Linked DNA regions of Homo sapiens: all the other regions are linked to region 2. Evidence: promoter capture Hi-C in human tissues and cell types (Jung and others, 2019). All regions are on one chromosome and are shown on one strand. The core of a region is centred on a gene start or on the middle of the fragment in contact, and the rest is flanking DNA. Distances in the headings are between cores, read along the strand shown.

Evidence for each region. Contacts are between HindIII fragments. The study calls those that stand out against the background at their distance.
Region 1: a fragment that was not itself captured here is called in contact with the fragment with the promoter of MPDZ in region 2 in 2 of the 25 tissues and cell types used here (dorsolateral prefrontal cortex and hippocampus).
Region 3: a fragment that was not itself captured here is called in contact with the fragment with the promoter of MPDZ in region 2 in 2 of the 25 tissues and cell types used here (dorsolateral prefrontal cortex and hippocampus).

What each region holds. Positions count from the first base shown.
Region 1 is chr9:13,579,274-13,584,079 of GRCh38, forward strand. No RefSeq gene overlaps it. Among named protein-coding and RNA genes, the nearest start is that of LINC01235, 150 kb to the left of the region's middle. The HindIII fragment of the contact is 3,308 bases long and covers 560-3,867 here.
Region 2 is chr9:13,277,709-13,282,249 of GRCh38, forward strand. MPDZ (multiple PDZ domain crumbs cell polarity complex component) reads right to left here and starts at 1,984. Exons shown (of 47, transcript NM_001378778.1): 1 at 1,692-1,984. RefSeq lists enhancers at 1-175, 176-891, 892-1,607. The HindIII fragment of the contact is 5,465 bases long and covers 1-3,568 here.
Region 3 is chr9:13,560,022-13,564,643 of GRCh38, forward strand. No RefSeq gene overlaps it. Among named protein-coding and RNA genes, the nearest start is that of LINC01235, 130 kb to the left of the region's middle. The HindIII fragment of the contact is 4,985 bases long and covers 1-3,795 here.

The sequences.
Region 1 (4,806 bases), core at 964-3,463, 300 kb after region 2:
GACCAGCCTGGCCAACATAGTGAAACCCCTGTCTCTACTACAGATACAAAAATTAGCCAGGCATGGTGGGAGGGCACCTGTAATCCCAGCTACTTGGGAGGCTGAGGCAGGAGACTTGCTTGAACCTAGGAGGTGGAAGTTATAGTGAGCCGAGATCACGCCGCTGCACTCCAGCCTGGGCGACAGAGACAGAGCTTGTCTCAAAAAAAAAAAAAAATAAAAAAAAAAAAGAAAAAGAAAAAAAGAAAATTGTTGAAGAAATTGAAGAATTATTCCTTCCCATTATAATGCACTTAGTAAGGAGCATGAATAAGCCAAACAAAGAATTAAAAAAATTTGCAGATCTATTTTTTAGAAAGCCTGGCTAAAAAGTCAGGATTCAAAAATAATAAATGACTTGGAAGAAATTATTTAGAATTTTGAACACATCTGAAACACAGATGAATTTCTATAGGTGGAAGACCTTATGTATGATTAATACAAAAAATTATGTCAGAGACCTGGCAAGGTAGCTCAGCGTGTAACCTCAGCAGTTTGGGAGGCTGAGGCAGGCAGATCACTTAAGGCCAGGAGTTCGAGACCAGCCTGGTCAACATGGTGAAACCCGTTCATACTTAAAAAAAAAAAAAAAAATAGCCAGGTGTGATGGCATACCTGTAATCTCAGCCACTTGGGAGCCTTAGGCACAAGAGTCGCTTGAACACCGGAGGTAGAGGTTGCAGTGAGCCGAGATTGTGCCACTGCACTCCAGCCTGGGTGACAGAGTGAGACCCTGTCTCAAACAAAACACAAAACAACAACAACAACAATTATATCAGGATAAAAAAAGGAATAAAGTCAAGCTAGTCTTTGGTTGATTTATAATGTAATGTTGCAGAAAACGGTATACTATTCAATTTGGAACTGAGACAAGAAAATTCAGTGCTGGGAACTGAGTCTAGATTTTCCGAAAAATGTAAAGAAAGAAGAGCTAATTCAAAACAAGAGCAATAGAGTGATTGTATCATTTGGAGACTAATGTACCTGGAAGACAGCATGAACACTATGATCAAAGGTTTGGTTAAACAATGATTGAAGTAACAAATTATTAACAGCCATGATAAACAGAAAGGGAAAGTTAAAATGAAATAAATCTGAAAAGACAAACTGAAGAAAGTTAAAGAAACGTCTGTGATGATTACTATATGAAAACAAAATGGTGAAATGGCTCAGAGTCATAGATATGCTTCCAACTATGAATTGGAATCCTGAAATTTTGAGTTTAAAGAAAACATAAAATGATAATTGTGATTATTATATGTGTTTATCAAAAAATGAGTTGAACCAATCAATGCACACGTATCTCTTTAAATTCAGGTGTAAGTGTTTGTCCACTTAAACTGAACATTTTTTATAGTTTTTGTTCGGTCAAAGAACACAAGCAATAGGAAATGCCTAATATATTCTTTTTCTTTTTTTTCTCTTTTTTTGTGATAGTTGAAGAGATACTAATCTAATGAAAATGAATCTGATCTAGAGTCTTCGGAAAATATTTATGAGGAACTATATCATATTACTCTAATTTCAACACCAAGCTTGTCAATACTGCTTGATAATGCTTAGAGGGCCCAACACTGCCCTTTCTCCAGCCATGCCCCTCTCCCAACGCAGGGCATCTGAGAGTCAAGGGCTGTTCTCACCTGGAATATGCCACCAAGACCTGCCACCGGAGGAGGCCGAGGAGCAGGGGTTACAGTGTGTGTGAAGGAAGGTAGTAAACAGAGCTTGGAAGTACTGAGTAGAGCGTCTGCTGGTGCATGAGGCCCCTCATGTTGCAGGATGGAGCCCTGAATAGAATGGGGGTTCAGGTCCACTCTCTTATGCCACCATGTTCCTCTGCAGAACTCTAATGAATCCAGTACTTTGAAATGTGAACCTGGTAATCCAGATTATTACATAGTTCGTTTGTTTAAGGCTGGAAGATAGAACATAATTTAAACATTGTTAACTTGGTTAACATATTTGAAATATTTGGACATATAGTATGTGGTCTTACCCTGGGCCTGCAAAGTTTTAGAGGCAGGCCTGTGTCTTGGCCCCTCTCAGGCTATGTGAGGTTCCAGAAAGCAGAGACTATCTTGTATTTTTCCAGTGTCTTTTACCATATCTGACAAGATACTCCATGCGTGTTTGGGAAATCAAAAAGAAATGAAATAGGAAAATGCAGGGACAGATGAGATGAACATAGGTAGAAGGTGAAGCAAATATTTCCAGCAGTTAGAATTATTATCAATCTGCCACATTTCCTTGACTTTCCTACCACAGGAGAGATATTCAGGAACGTTATTCCAGACTCAGAACTCAGCCCCTGATGAACAACAGGTCACCATGGCTGTACCTGGTGTTTTACAACCTTGCAGCCTGTTTTCTACACTGCCCAGGTCCCTGTGAAACTTCACTTTGCACGTGGTCAGAATCTCAAGGAAAAGGCAGTTTGAGGTCCCCCTAGCTGTTTTTTCCCCCTCAAGGAAATCAACAGAGCTGCCAGAACTTTTAACTTCATATTTTTTAACGTTGCATATTTCAGGAAAAATTTACGGCTCCTTTTATTACATTTTACAGGACCGTTGATAATATCCTTTCAATGCACAGTTTTTACACCTTACCAAGGAAAATGGACTTTTTTCCATGGCTCCTGTATGAACCTTTGAGTCATTTCTTTCTTTTTCTTTCTTCACAGAAATTCAGTCATTTAAATTCAGTTGCTGTTCTTTTTAATAGAGCCACGCTTAGTTTCATCACTCTGTAAGGCACTCACAATATGCACATCAGATTAATGTGAATACATTACACAATTCAGAAAAAAATTTTGCTTCTTCATCTTGAATTTACCCTAGGAAACAATGATATATTTTTCTTTCTCTCTTACTATTTGTGTATGTTACCACATCTCAGCAAAGGGTGAACTTGGGTTGGGCTCATTAATGTAGTAATAATTATTAGCAATTTAATGAACTAGGAACATATTTACTTTTTTGTTGTTAATTATAATCCTGTGTTTAGGAAGCTGATACTTTTTTTGTTTCTTACGGTAATTCTATAATAGTTGGCTGTCAGAGAGGATGTTTTAAAAATCCCTTTATATATAGTTACATTCTTACAAGATTTGCTTGAGCTAAGAAATAATTACTCTTCTTGACCAGCCACCCAAAAGACATCCAGTTCACAAATTTTCCTTGAATCTGTTTGCCAGCTATATAGGTGTGGGGAAACTATGTAAGCTCTCTGAGCTTCAGTTTCCATATTTTAAATGAAGTTGTCCCAAAATATAAGATGGGCATTAGAGATGTCATTTCCTGTGCTGGCACGCAGTGTGGTCCCCTTCACCAACTACCTTCACTTCTCCCTAGCCATATGCTCTGCCCCACGATAGACATTACTCTGACTTGAATTAGGCACTAAAGTTGAAGAAGCAAGCTTCAACTTTTTTTGAATTTTATTTCTGAATTGACTCTCTTGCAGCTGGTTGGATTCTTCAGTTACGAGGTCTGATAGATAAGTGGTTTTTCTTTTGGTATATATTTATCATTTTATTTCCTGCTTTTGTCAAAAAGAAGAAAGACATTTCTTTCTTCTCTACAGCAGATGGTAATAGCAATTAGACGCAGTTATAATCCCGACCCTCAATAGCCGTCAAGTCCCACTGTGTAGCGGAACTGGATGGAAAATGATCTGGATGTTGCAGTCGGCGTGCACTTGCCCAAAGCAATCCCACCTATCAAACACAAATTCACCAGGTGCCTGCCCCCAAAGTTGACCTGGCAGAACACAGAGAAAGAAATATTGTAATACGATGTCTTCTCTTTGTTCTATCCATTTCAATAAATTATAATGTGTAGATACTATCCATCCCCCTTATTACTACTTAAAATTTTCCTGATATCTGACTTTACCAATAACACCAACATTTTCTGCCAAAAGACTTTCTGATTATCAGTTTATCTGGAAATAACATATCAGAATGTATCCTCTTTTGTTTGTGAAAATTCCTCATTATAGTAAGATGATGTTATAGGCATTATCTAGGTCTGGTTTGAGCGTCTGCTAATGTTAATTCCAAATTATTTTATTTTGTATTGATTACAAACAAAAAAGAGTGTAATGTTTTTTCTGGTTTTATACATAATATTTTGGTAACTTTCGTTTAACCATATACTTAATATTGATTGAATAGAAGAATAAGACAGTTCTTTTCTATCTCTCCACTTCTATACATGCTGTCAGTAGACAGGGAGGAAGCTTCTATTCTATGCGTTATTGTACAGTTATTTTTTTTAAAAAATGGGGTTTCATCTTTTTCCTATGTAATCATCATCTTCACATATCTTACTAATTAAATGGCTAATTTGTCTAAATTGATTTCTCAAATCTTCCTAGGTCTTTTTGCCACAACAAGGGAATACATTTGAGTTTTTCCATCTTTTTTTTTTCCACAGCTTTATTTAGGTATAATTGAAAAAAAAATTGTATATATTTAAGGTGTACAATGATGTTTGAATGTATGTGTATATATTTTCCATTATTTTTTCTTTTTTTGTGTGGTGAGAACGATTAAGATATACCCCCTTAAGACATTTCCAATATACTATATGGTTTTGTTAACCATACTCACCACACTGCACATTAGATCAAGAGAAAGTATTCATCTTGCATAACTGACACTTTGCACCCTTTGATCAACCTCTCCTGGCAACCACTCTTCTGCTCTCTTTCTATGAGTTTGGCTATTTTAGATTCCACCTATAAGTGAAATAATGTAGTATTTGT
Region 2 (4,541 bases), core at 734-3,233:
TGCGAGCCATCACGCTCCGCTAATGTTTGTATTTTTAGTAGAGACAGGGTTTCACCATGTTGGCCAGCCTGGTCTTGAACTCCTGACCTTAAGTGATCCACCCACCTCGGTCTCCCAAAGTGCTGGGATTACAAGCGTGAGCCATTGCGCCTGGCCAAGTTTTGCTAGGTTTTTAAAACACTATTGTTTGCCAAAATTCCATCAGGTGCTAAGGCATACATTATACAAATTTAGATAGTTCCAACATTACAAGATGTTCATTGTAATCACTCATACCCAAATTCAACATGTAAAACTCCCAAGCCCGAAACCATCACCTCCTCCTCGTTAGTTTTCAGATAAGGTGTTATTTATTCTATAAAGGGTAACCTAAACCAGGAATTTCTAGGGAAACACGAAGGGGATGTTTACATCAAACTGTCTACAAGGCAGGACGAGGCAGTCTGATCACTTATCAGATTCCTTCTCTATGACATCAAGGAACATGGAGAAGTTTTCCTTCTACGCTGGTGAAGTCATGGTCCTCTTATCTATCTGATGATACCTAGGAAACACTAGCCTCCAACCGCAGCCCCTACTGCAAAAAGGCAGTCAGTGCCCATTGCCGGGGTCTTCCCAAGCGGAGCACCTCAAAAGCCGCACCGCGCAGTAGAGGTCTCCAGGGGCCCCCACTCGCCCCCAGTGACTACGGAGCGGCCTCTACCTCCCGCCGGCGCCTGGCCACTTCTCCTCCCCCGCAGTCTCCGCTTGATTTCCATGTGACTGCAGGCAAGAATAGCCCAGCCTTTGTGCCTCTGCAAAGAACGCAAACAAAAATGTACACCATCACCACCCAACAAACGCGCAACTCCGCAAGACACAAAGCGTCTCCCAAACATCGCTTCCCTGGTAACATCCGGCATCCTGGGGCTGCCAAATCGCAGACAAAGACGCCCATCAGCGCGGGGGGTGAGGAGACTAAGGGAGAGACAAGACCAACGTGCTCCCACCAACGGGAGCGGCGGTTAAAAGGGCGCCGGTGCCAGGGGTGAGGGACGGGGCACCGGTACCAATTAGCGGCTCGCCTCGGGGTCCCCGCGGCTAAGGCGAGAACGCAGGACCAGGAGCATTGCTGCCCACTCTCTACCGCAACCCGCACATCCCGGGACCACGTAACGGCGGATGGGGCGTCCGGGAGCGGCCCCTGCAGGGGAGAGCAACAGGCTCCCGCGCCCTGGAGGCCTGGTCTGCGCTCCGGGCCCCCAGGCTAACACCCCACCCCCAGCCCCCCGACACCAAGACTGTGCCCCTCTGGGTCAAGGAAAAGGAAAAACTTTTAAACCTCTTAGTCAGCGAGAGCAAAAGAAAGGGGTGGCGGGGGTGCTGAAAGGTCTAGGATTATCCACCGCGGGGCTGGGGGGAGTGGAGACTTGCGAGTAGCAAAGGAAACTTCTAGACCCCATCCTTTTAAAAAAGCCACAGCAGCGGCTTCCGCGAAGCGCCGGGCCGCGCGGGGTGGGGCAAGCGCACCGCCCCACCGCCCCACGGCCCGCCGCCACCCCTACCCCCACCCCCACCCCCACCCCCATCCCCGCCCCCACCCCCACCCCCAAGCGCCGAGCCCAGGGCGCCCGCGCACCTTCCCCGCCGGCGCGCGCGCAGGGCGCGGGGGCGCGCCTCGGCCTCTGGGCCGGGGCTCAAGCGCCGCTTACCCGGCTCGCGGCGCCCGCCCAGGGCCGCGACGCGAGGGGGCGGAGGACTGGGGAGCAGGGGTCGCCGGGGCCTCTGGATGCCTCGCCTCGCCCACGCTCACTGTCTTCTCTTCTGAAGTAACGACCCGGCGAGGAGCTTCGGATCAAAACGCACAGACACTCACGCGTGACTGAGAAACTTAATCCCGCGGTGGCCCGACGCCAGCCTAGCGCTCCGCCGCGCCCCCTCCCCCAGCGCGCGCCGCACTTGCGCCGACCGGGGCTGCCGCGGAGGCGGTGGCGGGGCCCAGGCTGCTGGGGCTGCCGTGACGCCTGCGACCGGCGGGGCGGCGGGCGCGCCTTGGCCAATCAGGGGACGCGGCCGAGCAGGCCTGTGCGGGGTTTTAAACTCGCTCCTGGGCCGCTCGACCTGGGGTGTGGGTAGTGGACTTGTGAGGTGGTCAGATAAAATATAGGCTGCTCTGTTAAATGGGAATTTCAAATAAAAAAAAAAAGGAATAATTTTAGTACAAGTATATCCCATGCAATATTTGGGACGTACTTATGCTAAAAAGTTCTTCGTTGTTTATCGGAAATTCAAATTTAATGGCAGTCTTGTATTTTTATCTGCCGATTTTGTCAACCTGCGGAAACTGATAGCCTGTTTCTAGCTCCTCAGATTTTCCTTATGTGCACTGCCCTGTGGATGCTTTCTGCATGGGTAGCTTACTGAATGGCATAGGATGCTTATGAGAAGCGCTTTAATCAGAAGGGTGGGGGCAGTCCTCTCACTTTCTAAGTAACTTTTCGCACATCAGGGTGCATTCTTAGTCTGATGATCCAATTAAAAAGCAAAAACAGTAAACATGGAAAAGTTATTAGAGTTGCATGGCCCCAGGAAGAACAGATATTCATTTCTATTTTGTGCCACTTAAGATTTTCTTTCTGTTATCCTCAATTTGGAAGTCCCACGAATTTTTTTCTGCATAAGAAACTCTTTTTCAAAATATCCCTCTGATATTAGATTATAGGACCAAAGGATACTCAGAAGTCCAATTTAGAACATTTAAAAGAATTTCTTTTAATATTCTGAATAAAAATACTTTTTTCTCATATTCCTTGGACTTTCAAACACATTCACAGCTGTTGACCTCTCTCTTCCTAGAGTCCTCCCCACCCCACCCCTCTTGTAATTCCATGCAATCACACTCTTGGTTTTGCTTCTTCCGCTTAGTCAAGGGCGGATGTATGGGCTCTGAAGCTTGTACAATTGGGAGCTCTGCTTTAACCAAAAAAAAAAAAAAAATCTTTCTTTAGAAAAATTCAAAAAATAAATGCCCATGTAAACACATTGCTAGGGTTGCTCCCAGGCAAGAGAAGGACCCGGAACGTTAAGCTACATCAATTTCCAGGTAGATCTGCCCCTGTCCCCAGGCCACTCTTCAGTCTTCTTTGCCTCCTCTCCCCCAATCTTTAGATGCTGGAATTCCTTAAAAATCAGTTACGGGCCCTCTTTTCCTTTTAACTCTTACCTCTAAATACATTTTCACTTCTAGCTTATGATCTCGTACCTACAGAATCTTACATTTATACCTTCAGATTTATCCATATATTCAAGTGTTTATTTGGCTTCCCTGTTTGCTTGTCTCAAACCTAGATTGCAAAAAAAAATGCAGCCGTGATACTTCTGCTCAAGCCTGGTCATCTTGTTCAGTGTCCCAGTGAATGGAACTGCCATAGATGCTACATGATTCCCACAAACTACGATAAACCCATTGTGATGCATTCTTATGGTACCCTATGCTTTTGCTTCATAATATTTTTCCTACTTTGTAAATATGCATTTGATTTTGTAATTATGCAATGTCTCTTCCCTCTTCAACCATAAACTCCATGAGAACAGGGGCTAAGTCACCATTTTATCCTCAGAGCCTAGTAAAAACTTCACACTTGGTTGGCACTCATATGAAATAGGATGAATATACGACTGCAAGAATGAATAATTTCTCCATATAACTTTTGTGTTCTTGTCATAGAGTCACCTCAAGGCATCCCATTTGGAAAGGATTTTCTTATTGCTTAGAAATTCCAAAGGGATCCTCCTGTTTGAATAGCACTTCTACTTGTCAGTTTTCAAATCTGGTCATTCTCAAATACAAAGGAAGTACGTGCATGAAATGTTAGCTGCTGGGGTAGTGTAGGAGGAAAAGAATTTCATAACTAGCTACTGAAGGAATTCTTTGAGTCCTAAAATTTTAAATGGCATTTTTTATATTGAACCATAGGGAAAGAGCCCATAAAACTGAATTAGAGGAAAGTTTTAGAAATTTAATTCCCTGGTTTATTGTGGATAAATGAGATTAAAACAAATAATTTTACCTTGGTTTAAAAGGTGCTATTGTTCTAGTCTCCTTTAGCGAAGCAAAGCCCACATGCCCTCTTTAAACAGCAGTATATCAGAGGATAAAAAGGCATCTGGTTTAGATTAGTCCTTGCATAAAATTATCCAGAGTTTGGGGATAATTCCACCCTGAAGCTTCTCCTTTTGAAGTTAATCCGTATAGCTATTGCTCTATTCTCTTTAACTTGTTCTAATCCAGAAAACCTAAGATTTTCTAGAAATCCACCGGGGATATAGTGCACTAGTTTAAAAAAAAATACCTAAAATAAAAGTTAAAAACATTAAAGTTGAAATAAAATCTTGCAGAGAAAGACAAAGTGTAAAGCAGATAGAGTAGAGGTGCTCTACTCTATGGGATGGCTTGAAACCCCATACGTAAATAGATTAATAATGCTTTCTATTTCATGTTAATACAGGCTCTGGGGTCATTCCACCTATATCCTCAGTGAGGCATTCTCCACAATAATTTG
Region 3 (4,622 bases), core at 53-2,552, 280 kb after region 2:
AGGATTAAATGTGTACAGCCTGCCATAATGTAAAGCACCTGGTAGGTTCAATAAATATTAGCTTTCCTTCTCTCAGTCTTTATTTGCTCTCTTTTTCAGTCACCCCACTTTTACAATACCCCAGACAAGATGGAACAGCTGATTTCTAACTAAATAAAAACTACAGTAAAATCCTAACAGAATCTGTTGAAAATAACACTTCCACTTGTGTATGATGATATTAATACCTTAAGATAATCATTACAGTCCATTTGTTGAGAAATACTCATTTGCTCATGGGCTGATCAGACTTGCCCGAGCTCAGGGAAAAGACAAATTCCTCCTTCTATTTAGCATGTTAATCTGTGAATATACAAAAATAAATGAGAATTTTAGAAAGGTATTTTTCTCTATTTCCTTAAAATTAGTTTCACTGTGAAAAATGAAATGGTTTTAAAGCTTAGTACAAATAGTGAGAAAAGTTTTATAAATCATTCAAAGGACCTTTTAACTCTAAAAATTATTATTTTGGCATTCAGTATGCTGACTCAATTGACAAGTATAGAGGCTGAAATGTGGGGTGTTTGCTATTGTGAAATAGTTATTTTTTTAGAGTGCAGGTGAAATTAGAAAAAGTGGAAAAGGTGTGTGTATGTGTGTGTGTTTTAATTCTTCAGATTTTAATGCAAATAGATTGGAGGGGTAGATAGGCACGCTGGGATAAACAAAGTAGTTGACACCTATGTCAAAGGGGTAATTTCTTCATCCATTGACACATATGTGAGCATTGCTTTCGGATATATGAAAAGGAGAAAGAGAACTGTTGATATTAATTTGAACAAAATGCATCTGGGTATGTGAATGTGTATGCACACATGCACGTGTGTGAAGAGCAAGAAAGACAGACAAAAATAGTCTTCTCCTCCTCTTCGCAGCAGACGTGGGTCTCTTTTCTGCATATGTCTTGGATAACCTCATCTATTCTTATATGTGAACTATTTTGCTAATAGATTCATACTGTAATGCAAAGTAAATCTCATCATCTCTGTTTGCTAGACATACTTTTACCTCAAACTCAATATGCCTAAAGTAGAAGGCTTTGTCCCACATCTTCCCTGCCCACCAAACAAACTAGTCCTGACATTAAAAATTCAGAGATTTGGAGCTGGAAGGAAATTTCAGTTTATGTATCCTGACCTCCCAGAAACCACCATGTAATGCCACCCATAGTAATCTGTGAGTTGGTCATCTAACTACATTTTCAAAGCTGAGGAGCTCATTACTTGACCAGATAATCTATTACATGAAAAAGGAAGATATTATCTTGCAAGACAACCCTTTTCATACACACGTATATTTATCTATATATATGTATGTATGTCTATAAGTGATTAAGAGAATAGTACACAGATTGTTGTCTACTACATGTCAGATAAACTATTAGTCTTAAATCCCAGCTCTGCTCCTTACGTACTAGATACAATCTTTGTCCTGTTACCTAACTTCTTTATGCTTTGATTTGCTTATTTGTAAAATTAGATTAACAACACTGTGGCGGGGCTTTTGTGAGGAGGAAATAATACATAGAAAATCCTTAGCATGGTGTCTGGCCCATAGTAAGTGCTAAGTAACTTATTATCATTGATATTATTATGACATATTTTATACATACAGAAAGGTAAAAGCATTACAGTAGTTTTTCTTGTCTGTAGGGGATAAGTTCCAAGACTGCCTGTGAATACTTGAAATCATTGATAGTACTGAGCTCTATATATACAATACTATGTTTTTTTGAGCTGATAACCTAGATGGCTACTAAGTAACTAATGGGCAGGTAGCATATAGGGTGCACAGGGACAAAGAGATGATTCACATCGCAGGCAGGTCTGTGCCGTATTTCATCATGCTACTCAGAACAGCACACAATGTAAATCTTATAAATTGTTTATTTCTGTAATTTTCCATTTAATATTATTGGACCATGGTTGACCACAAGTAACTGAGACCACAGAAAGTGAAAGGGGGGACTACAGTATGTAATTAGTACCCATGTCCCTACCACTCATAGTAAGAAATAAAGTATTAACTAATATAATTCAAGTCCCTGTCTATCTCTCTCTGGCCCTACTTTTTTTTTTTTTCCTAAAGGTTAACCTCTACTTAAATTTGGTATTCACCCTTCCTATGGATCTATTACTAAGTTTGTTAAATCAATAAATATCTATAAGCAATGCATAGTACTGCGTTACATGCTTCCTAACTTCATATGAATGGTATAACACGTTGTGTTTTCCTTTGCCACTTGCTCTTACTATTCAGCAATACATTTGTGAGATTTATCAATGTGGATAAAAGCTAGTTCTAGCTCACTCATTTTCACAGCTGTACTTTATTACATTGTATAGATATATCACACTTTATGCAGTTTTCTCTTATAAGTCATTGAGTTGACATCAACGTTTTTGCCAATATAAACAATGCCGCAAGGGTATTTAAACATGGGATGGCGAACAACCGATCTCTCAAGTTGATTTGAAATTTGCCTCCATGCAATCTCCATGCATTGTTTCTAACTCTTCCCTGTGAATATATACTGAGTTCTCATATTTCTTGTATATTTAGGTCTTGCAACTGTGATTTTAAAATGAGCTTATTTTATATAAAAAACTCTCACCGATCCCAGTTTTATTTAATACCTTTTGAAATTGTGCAACTAGTGCATGTGTGTCATAAAAATCATCACAACAATCTACAAGGGCATAAATGTAAGCGGTAGTAACTATCTGCCGCTTGCTAGTGATTACTGCCTGTTAGAGTTTGGCAAGCATGTTTCCAGTCTTTTCCTATGCTCATATCCATACCTTCAAACATGTACGTGTTACTATCTCAGTCTGTTTGCATTGCTATAAAGGAATACCTGAGACTGGGTAATTTGTAAAGACAAGAGGTTTATTCAGCTCAGGGTTCTGCAGGCTTTACAAGAAGCATGGTACCACCTCACCAGGTATGCTTCTGGTGAGTACTCAGGAAGCTTCCAATCTTGCCAGAAGGGGAAAGGGAGCTGGAATGTCACAGGGTGAAAGAGGAGGAAAAAGAGAGAAAGGAAATGCCAGTCTCTTTTAAACAACCAGCTGTCATGTGAACAGAGCAAGAATTCATTCATTGCAGTGGGGACCGGACCAAGCTATTCATGAGGGATCAACTCCCATGATCCAACCACCTCCCACTAGACCCCACGTTCAACATGGAGGATCAGATTTCAACATGAGATTTGGAGGGGGCAAATATCCAAATTATATCAGTTCCTTTGGTTTAGAATCACTTGTTTGCTATGTACAGAAACTAATTTCAAACTAGCTTGTACAATTTATTGGCTCACGTAGGTGGGAAATCTAATGAAGTTCAAGCACACTTGAACCAAAAGTGTTGATTCAAAAAGAGAATCAAGATTTTGCTTTTTAAATTTTGTACTATAATATTTGTTTTATTTTTAATTTTATTTTTCTTTCTGCAGGTATGCTCTGACCGCTGTTTTAAGTCATTTTAGAATTATTACATAGTTTTCCTCTTCCTCAGTCTCCTGACTTTTCTGTGTCTTTTATTTAGGGTAGCCTAATTTTCTTCCATTGAATATAGATTGTTATTTGCAGGAGCAAATTTGTTCATTATCATCCCCAGATTAAGATCCTTTAGATTAAGCAACATGGTAATTAAACTTCACATTCCCAATATCTTTTAGGGAAGGATTAGCACTTTTTTGAGTTATACACCAATTACCATTCCCAAGGGAAGAAAATTCCAGATCATATAGCAAGGCACATTATCACACAACCAGAATGAGAATAAGAAAATACTAAGAGCAGCCGAATAAGTGCACACAAGTCCACTGATGTGCAAAGAGACACATATACACACATTTTTGAAAATAAGGTTTTCTGTATGTACAGGTTGAATATCCCTAATCTGAAAGTCCAAAATCTGAAACTGTTTGAGTGCCAACATGGTGGTCACAGGAAATGCTCATTGAAGCATTTTAAATTTTGGATGTTTGGATTAGGGATGCTGAGGTGATAATATACCCAAATGTGAAACAATCCAAATTCTAAAACATGCCTGCATTTCAGATAAGAGATACTCAATCTATAATGTTATACAACTTAATAATTTTTACACACCATACCATTACATCTTTCTATATCACGACCTACCAAGCTACTACATTCTTTTTTCCAAAACTATAGAGTATTTCATGGTATTTGCTTGCTACAATTTATTGAACCCTTTGCTTGAGGTTGGGCTTTTAGGTTATCTCTACATTCTCACTAATACAAATTAAGCTAAATGGATACTCTTTTTCATTCACTGAATATTTATTAAGCCCCTATGCACCTGGCATTACCTTGGGCACTGGAGTATACAATATTGAGCACAAAATTACATGACTGACTTTTTAGAGCTTAGAGAATGGAGGAGAGACCCTTATTAATTAAACTATACACATAGGCGTAACATTACGTCTATGTCCATTCCTCTTAGGTAGAGTCATATGGTACTATAAAAGCATTTAATAGTAAGATTTACCTAGTAGGGATTCAGGGAAGCTTTTGAGTAATGGATTCTTCAGCTGGGGTCTGAGAGAGCTG